3 separate regions of the Homo sapiens genome follow, and all the other regions are linked to region 1. Evidence: promoter capture Hi-C in human tissues and cell types (Jung and others, 2019). All regions are on one chromosome and are shown on one strand. The core of a region is centred on a gene start or on the middle of the fragment in contact, and the rest is flanking DNA. Distances in the headings are between cores, read along the strand shown. Region 1 holds the start of HAND2 (heart and neural crest derivatives expressed 2). Region 2 overlaps HAND2-AS1 (HAND2 antisense RNA 1). Region 3 has its middle 45 kb from the start of HAND2.

Region 1 (4,554 bases), core at 1,197-3,696:
CTTTTTTCTGTACCATGTTGTCCATTTCCTTTACCACTTGCAATGCTATCTGGAGCCACGAGGTAATTCATTCATTTTTGTTTGTTTGTTTGTTTCAATTAAAAGCATGAGAAAAGCTAAATGTGGCAAGTTCTGAAGCTTTCAAAAGTGAGGCCACTCACCGCTGGTCTCTGGTGGACAGAGCATCTCAATCCCTAACTCAGCCCTCCTCTGGACTCTTCTTCCTCCCTTCAATTCCCAAAACTCCCTTTGGGTCTTAAAGCAGCCAACCAACTAATTTCCCTGAATTTTTATATGTTCCCAGCCCCAGTGCAATCTTACTTTGTCTACCTGCTCCCAAGGCCTAAATGTGTTTTTATAAACAGACTTTTCAAAAACGTATCAAATGTCAGAGAATTGAACTACCAGTATTTACACATTCGGGGTTTGCCTCCGGGTGAAAATGTAAACAGAACCCCCAACCACACTACCTGCATTCTTTCCTTGAAGAACCAGGTCTTTAAAAGGCTCTCCTTGTGCTAAAAAATTGCAGACCCACGCAAGTTGGGGGTTTAGAGCAGTAGGTCACTATTTTGTTCCGAGCTCAACTGCAAGCCCCTGGCGCTTACCAACGAGCCTAGTTTCAGTTAATCCCTATTCTAGGTTCAATGCTTTAAGACGCTTGTCTGGGGACGTTCAAGGATGTTAACCCCTTTCCTAGAAAAAGAATGGGCCCTGCACCGACTCTAATCCTGGGCTTTTAAGTCCCTGTCTCCTACCGCCCAGCCGCGGCAAACCTGAAATATATATATTTCTCAATCCTGCTGCCCAAGACTCTAGGGCTAGTGGAGGGCAGAGCCCGAGCACAGAGTCAACTGCAACACCGAAGTTGGGCGCCCTCCATTCGCACTGACCTCGCCTTCCTGCCCCAACCACTTTGTCGGCGGTGAGCAAGGAAAGGACTGTCCTTGTGGAGTCCTTCGGGTGGGGATCGCTTTGTGGCCTGCGGCCGGACTCTGCCCGCCTCCAAAGGGCGATGCTCAAGGTGGAGTCTTTGGTCTCCCTTGGGCTAACCTGGCCTGACCAGCGGCGAGCCCCAGGCCGCCCTGTCCCGCGCTGGCGCCGCAGGCCCTCGCCTCCCTCTAATTTACAGCCCGCGGGCTCCTGTTGACACCGTTTTCCACACCGAACTCCTTCGGGTGGAATCTGCATATACACATCAGCCTCCCCTCTCGGCTTGGGGCCAAGCCTGGGGTGATTTCAGCTCCTGCCATTTACCACCCGCCCTCGCCGCACGTGAGCCTTCTCAAGAAGCTCATGCCACACGGGCGCTGCGGCCCGGGTGCCCCGCGGCCCGGTGACTTACAAGTGGAGATCCATTTTCCGTTATAATGCGTTCAAGATCACCAAGGCCAGCAGTCTCAACATCCACGAGCCGTCCTCCCGGCCTGCCTCTTAAACTGGCGTTTAATGGTTCCCCTCCGATAACTAAACCTGCTTTCCACAGATGCCCGCTTTTATGAGGGAGGCAGGAATGCAGAGATATATTTATATGTTTGTTCATAAAAACTGGAAAATAAGCTCTGAACACGCCGTAAAAAATATTCAGTTACTTACCAAACAGGCTAGTTAAACCAGGGGAACACCGATACCAGCCACACTACAGATTCGGGGAATCGAGGTGCCCGCACTTCAAAATCGCCCAAGGTCTTCGTAGGGACTGGTGTCCCTGAAGGATGTGGAAATAACAGCATTTACAATCGGCTTGACATGTTCGCCCGGAGGACTCAGCCGTCATCTCCAAAGTTTGCCGCAATAACGTGAGCCACCCCAAACAGCTCTAACCGGGGTAACTTGGTGGGTAACTCAATAGCCACTGAGACCGGCGTTTCGAGCCTGTAAACGGGTCAAAGAAACACCCTTCTCCAGCCGCTCCTCGTCCCTGCTGGGGCAAAGAGCGCCAGCTCCCAGCCGCGCCTTTGTGGGGGCCCCCACCGCCCGTCACGAGGCTCCCGGCGCCCCTGCATAAAATTGTAAGAGGCTGCCTGCGTATATTTTCTTACCTCGATTACCTACAAAGCACTTCGAAAAGCAATACCTGCGTTTTCTTTCTTTCTTTCTTTTCAACCAGAAAAGAGAGCAGAGTGATACTGTACCTGGTTAGAGATTCTTCAATATTTGAGACTTGGGGGGAAAATATTTTAATAGTGAAGCATCTGTTAAACACTTGCATTATCCTCTGACTGATAAAAAAAGTTTTTTTAACCCTGCCCCCCCCCCCCGCCAAGTTTTAATTATCTTATGGTTATGAGGAGGTAGCCAATCCTGGAAGAGGACCTCGGCAATTAGCAACGTGAACATCAAAAAGTTTTATTGCCGAGAGCTCGAGGCGCCGCCCCTGCCGCCCCGGGATTGGCGTGAGGAGCCTCTGACGACATATATTAACCCGAGCGGCCCTAAAGATGTAGCTGTACATGGAGATCTTGCTGGGAAAATCCGCTTGCTCCCCTCACGTCGTCCAGCCCAGGAGAACCACCGCCGTCACCCCGGAGCTTCCTCGGCCACCGCGCAGAGCCCTCCGAGAGCCCGAGCCGCGGTCTTCGAGCTCCAAGGCTCATTCAGGGCCCCAGATCCTTGCCCCGAAAGGAGAGGATCTGAGAAAATGGATGCACTGAGACCTCTCTGAAAACCCTCCGAGAGAGCGCGAGAGGAGCGAGGACACGTTACTCGCAGCTAAAATCACATTTAAGGACCAAAACAACAACAACCAAAAATTTCATTAAAACAATAAGCGCCCAAGAACCCAGATCGGGCTGGTGGGGGGAGGGGAAGAGGCGGGAAGGGGAGGGTCGCACGGAGGTAGCTTTGCAGTGAGCAGTCGACCCCGCCGCCCCCCGGCACAGCTGGACCGGCTCCTCCAGCCGCGGCTCAGACTCGCCCCTGGATTCCGGGTTAGCTTCGGTGCCAGGACCGCGGCCCGGGCTTGGATTCCCGAGACTCCGCGTACCAGCCTCGCGGGAGCCCCGGCACCTTTGTATGAGCACGAGAGGATTCTGCCTCCGCGCAGCAGCCCGGGAAGCAGGAGCCGAAGCGCGGGCCGTGGAGCAAGGCGGGAACCGGAGGCGGCGGCGGCGGCGGCCAGGGGCGCACGGTGCCAGGACCAGCTCGCCGCGCCCCATGGGGAGCCGGCGGCCGCAGCGCTGCTGAGGCGGGCCCGGCTGGCCAGGCGGGGGGACGGGGCCCGGGCTGCAGCAGCCCCCTCTGCGGCTGCCGGGCGGGCCCGGGCGCCCGGGGGCTGGGGGGTGGGGGGTGGGGGAGGACGCCGAGCGCTGAGGCAGGGGCCCGGGCCGAGGGCGCGGCGGGGCTGCGCGCACGCTGGGGCGCGTGGAGGGGCGCGGAGGGCGAAATGAGTCTGGTAGGTGGTTTTCCCCACCACCCGGTGGTGCACCACGAGGGCTACCCGTTTGCCGCCGCCGCCGCCGCAGCTGCCGCCGCCGCCGCCAGCCGCTGCAGCCATGAGGAGAACCCCTACTTCCATGGCTGGCTCATCGGCCACCCCGAGATGTCGCCCCCCGACTACAGCATGGCCCTGTCCTACAGCCCCGAGTATGCCAGCGGCGCCGCCGGCCTGGACCACTCCCATTACGGGGGGGTGCCGCCGGGCGCCGGGCCCCCGGGCCTGGGGGGGCCGCGCCCGGTGAAGCGCCGAGGCACCGCCAACCGCAAGGAGCGGCGCAGGACTCAGAGCATCAACAGCGCCTTCGCCGAACTGCGCGAGTGCATCCCCAACGTACCCGCCGACACCAAACTCTCCAAAATCAAGACCCTGCGCCTGGCCACCAGCTACATCGCCTACCTCATGGACCTGCTGGCCAAGGACGACCAGAATGGCGAGGCGGAGGCCTTCAAGGCAGAGATCAAGAAGACCGACGTGAAAGAGGAGAAGAGGAAGAAGGAGCTGGTCAGTACCAGGGGGCGGCAGGCGGTGGGGCTGAGGGGGTCAGGGAACTGGTGCTCCCGGCCTCTTTCCAATTGGGCTGAGAAATGGCATCTCGTGTTCTTTGGCTGCGTCCCGCTTCAAGGTTGTTTGCACCAGGTTGTGTAAGGATGGCTTCCGGCATAAGCAGAGAGTTGAGGGGAGGGTGTCAGCAGGAGGAGGAGAAGGTTAGGGATGCTTTGCGCTGGTGATCTTACCTCCGGGTTATCGCTGCTCCCCTAGTACTTAGGACGGACCTTGAAAACTCTGGGTCGCGATCGATCGCGATCGCACTGGTCTGGATGCCTCACCCCGTCTCTGTTAGACCCTTCTTTTGGCCTCCAATCCAATCTTGCTTTCAGATGTTTCCAGAATAAGTCTCGAAGAAGCCCTTGATTCCAATTATTTCACTATTGATCGCACCCCCTACCCCACTCCCAGAAGGAGGCTGCCAGAGACTGAGCCCTGAGTTTTGTGGTTGTTCTCATACTATGCCCGGAAAACGTAATGGTAAACATAAAATAAGTACTTTTGACTTCAAAATACAGCTCCAATTTTTCCTTGGCTATGACGTTAAAATGTAATTTCCCAGATGAGTA
Region 2 (4,554 bases), core at 576-3,075, 52 kb before region 1:
TACTACTACGCCCCGCTAATTTTTTGTATTTTAGCAGAGACGGGGTTTCACCATGTTGGCCAGGATGGTCTCGATCTCCTGACTTCGTGATCTGCCCGCCTCGGCCTCCCAAAGTGCTGGGATTACAGGTGTGAGCAACCGCGCCCAGCCAATTCGAGGAGTTTTTTAAAGGTGTGTTGAGTAGGTGGGATCCTGTGTTGCTAGGATAATACTTGTGCAGATCTCATTCTGATAGAACACCAGGTATCCAGAAATAAAAAGCGGGGAAGGGAATGGAAGGGAAAGGGAAAAGGAAAAGGAAAGGGAAAGAGAGAGGAAGGGAGGAAGGAAGGAAGGAAGGAAGGAAGGAAGGAAGGAAGGAAGGAAGGAAGGAAGGGAGGGAGGGAGGGAGGGAGGGAGGGAGGGAAGAAGGGAGGGAGGGAGGGAGGGAGGGAAACTAGGTATCCGGAAAGTCACAATTTTTTCTGGTGTATCTAGGAAACAGCCATGTGTAGGTGATTGGAAATCAGGGTTTTTTTGGACACTCACATCACAATTCTTTTTTTTTTTTTTTTGAGACGGAGTCTCGCTCTGCCGCCCAGGCTGGAGTGCAGTGGCGCGATTTTGGCTCACTGCAAGCTCCGCTTCTCGGGTTCACGTCATTCTCCTGCCTCAGCCTCCCGAGTAGCTGGGACTATAGGCGCCCGCCACCGCGCCCAGCTAATTTTCTGTAATTTTTTTTTTTAATTTTTTAAGATGGAGTCTCCCTCTTCGCCCAGGCTGGAGTGCAGTGGCGCAATCTCGGCTCACTGCAAGCTCCGCTTCCCGGGTTCACGCCATTCTCCTGCCTCAGCCTCCCGAGTTGCTGGGACTACAGGCGCCCGCCACCACACCCCGCTAATTTTTTGTATTTTTAGTAGAGACGGGGTTTCACCGTGTTAGCCAGGATGGTCTCCATCTCCTCACCTAGTGATCCGCCCACCTTGGCCTCCCAAAGTGCTGTGATTACAGGCATGAGCCACCGCGCCCGGCCTCACAATTCTTATTATCCTTTCTCCTTTAGAATTACAGAATCACAAAAACCCTAGAAGTCATCCGGAAGGGAAGAAGAGAATGCGAAAGAACAGAAGAGTATAATGTTCAACATGCAGGGAAAAAAATAACAATACATATTTCAGAAATAGGAGCAGCTTCAGTGCAGGCAGTATCATGGCAGCCACTCCACGGGAGGAACGGGATCCTCTGCCAACCTTGTCAGCCACTCCAACTAAGCAGCTGCTGCACCAGGTGTGTTGCTGCTGTCTTTCTAAGGGTTCAAGAACATGGGCTCTGGGGTCATATGGCCTGCGTTCACATTCCAGCTCCATTCATAGCCTGCATGACCTTTAGCACATGTCTTGGCTTCTCTGCCTCAATTTCCCCATCTGTAAAATAGAAATAAATATAACATCAATCTCATCAAATTGTTGAGAAGATTAAATTGCATAAAGCACAGAAAACATATCATAGTGAATGAGAGATAGTAAGTATCCAATAAATGTAGGCTAGTATTGCATTTCTTTTCATTTCTACAACAGCCCTATGAAGTAATGATCATCCTCTTCATTTACAGAAGAGGATACAGAGTTAAGGAGGCCATATCAGCCTCCTAGTTTCACTAAACTAGTTTGAATTCCATATAGTACCTGAGTCCCAGAAATATCTGGCTCCAAATTAATGCCCTTTCCCCCATACCACACTGTTTCTCCACACTCCCAGGGCACTCAATGAGAAAAATGCTGACTTAACTTAGTGCAAATGGTCAATCAATAGTATTTGGCTGAAGGCCAGGGCAGTGGTTCACTCCTGTAATCCCAGCACTTGGGTTAGTGGATCCCTTGAACCCAGAAGTTCAAGACCAGCCTAGGCAACATGGCGAAACCCTGTGTCTACAAAATTACAAAAAAAATTAGCCAGGCATAGTGGCACGTGCCTATAGTCCCAGCTACTCAGGAGGCTGAGGTGGGAGGATCACTTGAGCTCAGGAGGTAGAGGCTGCAGTAAGCCTGATCACACCACTGCATTCCAGCCTGGGCGACAGAGTGAGACCTTGTCTCAAAAAAACTTATTTTAATAGCATTTCAATGAACAGCTATCATTCTACATGTCTGAAAGACATGGGATATTCTGGGATACTCTTCCCAGAATATACAACTTAATACTAGATGGTAACATTCTTGGATTATGTACAGTCAATCTTAAGCATTCGATGACTCCTTTAAAGACACTTGTCTTTAAAATTTGTGTATAATCCCACTAAATTAGTAGTTCTTAAATTTTATTGAGTCTTGGACCCCTTGGTGAATCAGATCAAAGAAAAGAACACTTTCCCCAGGCAGAAAAAAATGCACATATACATACTCCCAAAATATGTATACAATTTCAGTGGGTTCAGAGACTTGAGAAGTTCATGCAATCCAGGTGAGCAATCCCCCATTCTAATGAGCCTGGAGATCTGGAATGCTGTTCCATTTACAAGGATGCCCTTTCTATATGGCTATTATCACCCTGCTTGGCCTCTGCTTTGTTTCTTTTTGATTTTTCTCTTCTTTCCTGTTCTCTTTCCTTTTACCTCTCTTACTATTCCTTTCTCAACTCTCCACCCACTCCTACCTTGGCAATCAGACAGCGCCACTATCGGAATCTCCTCTCCCTTCCCCTTCCTCCCCTCTGTATCCTTCCTGACCAGCTGATTCCGGAGAGGAATCCGATAACTTATCAATAGGCATAGGTTGCTCCATAGGAATTTTGGCCAGCCTGGGAAACAGTCTTTCTTTGAAGGATAGCAGATCAGAACTTCTGGCTCCATTAAGAAGTCATTTCTCCTAATTCTCCAGTAAATACAACCACTTTCCATTAAATATATGCAGATTCACTATATCCTGTTTTCAAGGAAACATTCGCTAAGTTAACAATTCTGGTATAGATATCTGTGAACTCATTTGTTCTTTTATATCTGTGACTTTTTTTCTGGTACCCATCAGCTTAGTAGTTAAGTACTCAGAAAAACATATATTGGACACATAAAGCCTCATATAAGCAACCTGTGCATTAAAATGTGTCTGTCTCCATTAGGTTTCTTGTTTGCCTACAATGTGCAAGTGAATTGCATTTATATCTGTTTTTTTAAATAAGCTTTTAAAAACTCATGCAATCATTTGGAATCCTTGGCCAACTATAATATATATATATATATATATATAACTGCCTAGAGTTGCCTAATATGAAAATGTGGTTAAGCAATTGTAAGAATGAAAAGCTTCAAACTGAAATGAAATGTAAAATCATAAACTACAATATTGAAATGAAATCTTGTTTAAAAGATTTGTCTTAGAGTTTGACTTTGGATGCATTTTGTACCTCTAGAATATTCCATCATCAAGAAATCTGAAAAGTCAGTATTTTCATTTCCTAGCAAATCAAAATGTTTCGTCTAAGCCCAATAATTTTCTTGAAGGATGCTTTCCAAGAGAATTGTCCTCTGTATTTTTCATATGAAAGTTTCTGCAAAAACCAACTATGTTTTTAATAAGGTAAATTCACAACCATAAATGTGCCTTAGATTATTATGGGACATTTTGTAAACTGCCAGGCATATGAAATTAAAGGAGAGAGACAAATGCTTTATATATGAGCATTACATATTTACTTCACAGTTTTTAAACTATTTCATAGTAACTTCATCAGCATTTCCACTTACTATAATGATCATTTAAGATTTTGTTATGGTGAAGCCATTCACTGAATTGAAACACTATTTTTGTAATTTGGAAAGAAAAACTGTATAAAATGAATAGCATTGGCAAATGTTTCTAATCATTTCCTTAAAATACTAAACCACCAATCTTTTTATTTACTGCATTTTGCTTAAGTGCATAAATCAAAGGACAATAACAAGCCTAATGTCAAAGAAACTTTTTGACACTTCATACATTTGAGCAAGCTTAGCCGATAAACAGTTTAGATGAAGTTATGGTTTGAAATATGTTTCCCAAGAGGACTGTGGTTCATAAATTGCTATCAGGCTACCTCTGTCATTATTGATTTGAGAGGTACTCAAGGTACCCCCAGCTATTAACTAAGGCTAGCATTACCTGACCTGCTTTTCAGAGAATGATATTTGGTTTTACAAAGACAAGTAACCATCCATCCTATAAGAAACATGTAGTTTGCTTGTCATCGGGCACAAAATATATTGCATTCTATTTGAAATGTTGACCAACAATTAAAAGACGAGGCAACATAATCTTAAACAGGCTTCCAACCATCTTCATAATCCTAAAAGGAATTAAATCAGTTCCTTTTGTATAACAGCTGTACTGGGAAAAGCTAGAAGAATGAGAGCATTTTTTTTAAAAAATGCATCAAACAATAGAAATTTGCATCTCAGCATTTTGCAATTATATGATTATTTATTACACCTGTGCTCTTAAATATTCTTTGCAGATATGTGTTTTTGATAAGCTTATTAAAAATACACCCACAGGCAAATCAAATATTAGTCCCATAATGTGTGTATGTTTATTTCTTTACCTG
Region 3 (4,554 bases), core at 1,206-3,705, 45 kb after region 1:
AGGTGCGTGCCACCACACCCAGCTAATTTTTTCATTTTAGTAGAGATGGGGTTTCACCATGTTGCCCAGGATGATCTCGAACTCCTGAACTCAGTGATCTGCCCACCTCGGCCTCCCAAAGTGCTGGGATTACATGCATGAGCCACCATGCCCAGCCAAAATAGGCCATTTCTATGGAGAAAGGAGAAAAATAGGCTTATGGAAAATTGAATTTGCATACTTGATGATAATTAACAACTTAAATTTAAAATTTAAAAAAAGCCCAAATATGTGGTGTATATGATATGTGCTGAGAGGGAATTTTAAAAAATTCTAATGTATTTCACATCTCAATTGCCTTTTGTCTAAGAATTAACATCCTGAACACTGACTAAAAAAGGTGAAAAATAATATTTTATTTTCTCATTTTAAATTTACTTCCTTTGTCAAATTACTCTCAATGAATAAGGAAACCCATCAAGAGCAACATGGTTCATCTTTATTTGGAATTTCAGAAAAGCTAATGTCCCAAATCATGTCTTCTGAGATTTTCAAAGGACTTTTGCTGTCTAGCTTCATCTTGTTTACTGATGTTAGAGCTGTGTTGAGATTAATATCAACAATCAGAAAGTAATATCATGGTTCTGGTTGTCATTATCCTGTTTAGACATGCTAGAACTAGATTGCTTGTGTTGAAGTGTAATGGACTGGAGAAAAGAGGCATTCAAAATCTTAATGGTGAGAGCTTCAACTATCCAGCCATCTGCCAGATGTCTCATTTCCTAAATTCAGAACATCTGATAAGTCCATGATTTGCCTCAATTAGTATTCTCAGCCCTGCCTGCACATTAGAATAGTCCCAGAATTTAAAATAAAAAATTGACAGGCAGGCTCCACCCCATACTAATTAAAGCAGACTCTCTCAGGGTGGGGCCTCAGACTTTTTTTCTTTTTAAGCTCCCCAAGTGATTTGAATGTGCAGCCAGGGTAAGAATCAGTAACCCAAATGATAATTTCATCTTTCAGAAGGGAGACGGAGAGGAAGTGAGGAGGAGGATTAACACCCTGCTTCTAATTCTGGCCAACAAGGAGGCCCTGAATGGAAAATCAGAAGTGACAGGAACCCTGGAAGAGGGCCACCTGGCCATCAGAAAATTCCAGAGGGATGTGGTCACTGCCAGACACACACTCTGTTAGTCTGAGCCTAAAAATATTTCAGGAAATTATAAAAGCTTGACTTTGACACCCCAGTCTGAGATTCCAAAAAGAAGCAGAGGAGATTCCTCAAAATAAAATTCTGATGCTACTATTGTAAATGGTCCAACGCAGGAAGGAAAAGAAGAAGAAGAAGAAAAGAAAAAGGAAGGAGGTAGCCAAAAAGATTTAGTGTCTTTGGGTAGGAAGCTGTCTGCTGAGATCAGATATATTTTTAAATGGTGTGTGTTAAATGCAAAAGCTGATCTAGAAAAACAAGCATGGAAAAAAAAATCTGTCAAGAATATGTGAGAAGAGTCAGAAAGTTTAAAAGGAGGTTAACATTCTAGATGATGAAAAGGGCTGTTTGAATCCAAAGCAAGAAAGCCTACGATACATGGCCAGCTGTGATGGCATTATGTCAGTGGTGAAGGATGCAAAATGGAACACTCTCAGACTCTTTGGTAAGAAAGAATTTAAGGTTAAAATCACCTAGGAGCAGATTCTAACTGTCATAAATAAGTTTAAACACTGGCCTGGAAATAACAAACCAAAATGTAAATAGAAGTTTCAGATGAAATTGCTTTAATCTTTAAAAAATATGGAGAATGAAAGAGATGCCTAAACACTGCCCAACATACTTTTTCAAGAGGAAAGAAGAGAAATTCTCTGAACTACAGACTCCAGGGCCTGCTGATTCTTCAGTTACATAATTCTAGGATTTACTTTAAAATGCAGTTTGAATGCAAGATTTGCTAAATTAAATCATGCCTTTGACATAGTTTATGAAGAGAGTAGAGAGACAGGGAATCATACAATTTTTTTTGTTGTTTTTGAGACAGAGTCTCATTCTGTTGCCCAGGCTGGAGTGCGGTGGCACAATCTCGGCTCACTGCAACCTCCACCTCCCAAGTTCAAGAGATGCTCATGCCTCAGCCTCGCGAGTAGCTGGGATTACAGGTGTGTGCCACCACACCTGGCTAATTTTTGTATTTTTAGTAGAGGCGGGGTTTCACCATGTTGAACAGGCTGGTCTCAAACTCACGACCTCAAGTGATCTGCCTGTCTCAGCCTCCAAAAGTGCTGGGATTGCAGGCATGAGCCACAGGGCCCAGCCACAATTTTTAACAATCTAATTCAACTTCAGTAGTAGTTCATAATCTTTGAGAATCAGATAAAAATCTATGTATCCTCTTGAAGTGGTTAGATAGTATGGTATAACAAACTATCGCAAAACTTAATGGCTTAAAACAACTACCATTAAATTGCTCGTAATTCTGCAATTTGTGCTGGGCCCAGCTGGTAGTTCTTCTGCTGGGTTTGTCTGGGATCACTCAGGCAGCCTCAGTCATCTAATGGCTTACATGAGGCTGAATGGCCCAGATAGCCTCAGTCATGTTTGGTACTTGTTGTTGGCTGTCAGCTGGGCCATGTGTTTCCAGCAAGACAGCTAGGTCTGATTTACTTGGTAGTGACTAATTCACTTGGTAGACAATGAAAGCAAAACTTGCAAGGCTTCTTGAGACCAAGGCTGAGAAGTCACATGACATCATTTTTGCCTCATTCCTTTTTAAAAAAAAAATTTATCCTATATATAATATATCATATATATTACATATAATGTAATATATAATATATATAATATATTATATATTACATTATATGTAATATATATGATATATTATATATTATATAATATATAATATATAATATATAATATATTATATAATATATAATATATAATATATAATATATTATATAATATATAATATATAATATATTATATATTATATATTATATTTATAATATATTATATATTATATTTATAATATTATATATAATATATATAATATTATATATAATATATAATATAATATATAATATCTAAAATATACATAATGTATATTATATATGTATATAATATATAATATATAAAATATACATAATATATATTATATATAATATATTGTACATATAATATATATTATATGTATAATATATAATATATAATATGTATTACATGTATATAATATATAATATGTATTATATGTATATAATATATAATATGTATTATATGCATATAATATATAATATGTATTATATGCATATAATATATAATATATATTATACATCATGTTATATATAATATATAATATATATTATATGCATATAATATATATTACATGCATATAATATATACTACATAAAATATACATAATGTATAATATATAAAATATACATAATATATAACATATAAAATATACATAATATATAATATATATTATATGTATATAATATATAATATATATTATATGTATATAATATATATTATATATTATATGTATATAATATATATTATATATCATATGTATATAATATATAATATATATTATATGTATATAATATATAATGTATAAAATATACATAATATATAATATATAATATATATTATATATTATATAATATGTTAAATATATTATGTATAAAATATATAATATATAAAATATACATTACATAGAAAATATATGATATATAAAATATATATTATATAGAAAATATATAATATATAAATATATATTATATATAATATAGAAAATATATATAATATATAATATAGAAAATATATTATATATTATATATAATGTAGAAAATATTCTATATTCTATATTATATATTATATATTGTATATTATATATTATATATTATATATGGTATATTATATATTATATCATGTATATTATATATTATGTATATTATATTTATAATTATATATGTATATTATAATATATTATATAATATGTAATATATATCATATATAATATACTATATATTATATAAAATATATAATATATTATATATGATTTATATTATATATGAAATATATAACATATATTATATGAAATATATATAACATATATTATATGAAATATATATAACATATGTAATATGAAATATATATTATATATTATATATTATATATATTATATATATTACATATCATATATCATATATATGATATATGATATATCATATATCATATATATGATATATCACATATAATATATCATATATATGATATATCACAATATAATATATCATATATATGATATATCACAATATAATATATCATATATATTATATATCACAATATAATATATCATATATATTATATATCACAATATAATATATCATATATATTATATATCACAATATAATATATCATATATATTATATATCACAATACAATATATAATATATATTATATATCATAATACAATATATAATATATATTATATATCAGAATATAATATATAATATATTATATATCAGAATATAATATATAATATATATCATGATATAATATATAATATATACTATATC

Evidence for each region. The method cuts DNA at HindIII sites, captures the fragments that hold promoters and counts their contacts. A contact is called where the count stands out against the background at its distance.
Region 2: a contact is called between a fragment that was not itself captured here and the fragment with the promoter of HAND2 in region 1, in 3 of the 25 tissues and cell types used here (H1 embryonic stem cells, dorsolateral prefrontal cortex and spleen).
Region 3: a fragment that was not itself captured here is called in contact with the fragment with the promoter of HAND2 in region 1 in 2 of the 25 tissues and cell types used here (H1 embryonic stem cells and spleen).

The regions. Positions count from the first base shown.
Region 1 is chr4:173,528,121-173,532,674 of GRCh38, reverse strand. HAND2 (heart and neural crest derivatives expressed 2) reads left to right here and starts at 2,446. Exons shown (of 2, transcript NM_021973.3): 1 at 2,446-3,940. The coding sequence starts at 3,386. It overlaps HAND2-AS1 (HAND2 antisense RNA 1), which reads right to left and starts at 2,304. Exons shown (of 5, transcript NR_136196.1): 1 at 2,136-2,304; 2 at 1,597-1,708. The HindIII fragment of the contact is 12,639 bases long and covers 1-4,554 here.
Region 2 is chr4:173,579,554-173,584,107 of GRCh38, reverse strand. HAND2-AS1 (HAND2 antisense RNA 1) reads right to left here. Exons shown (of 5, transcript NR_136196.1): 4 at 1,230-1,403. Among named protein-coding and RNA genes, the nearest start is that of HAND2-AS1, 51 kb to the right of the region's middle. The HindIII fragment of the contact is 4,794 bases long and covers 1-4,222 here.
Region 3 is chr4:173,483,424-173,487,977 of GRCh38, reverse strand. It overlaps a transcript of SCRG1 not described here. Among named protein-coding and RNA genes, the nearest start is that of HAND2, 45 kb to the left of the region's middle. The HindIII fragment of the contact is 4,911 bases long and covers 1-4,554 here.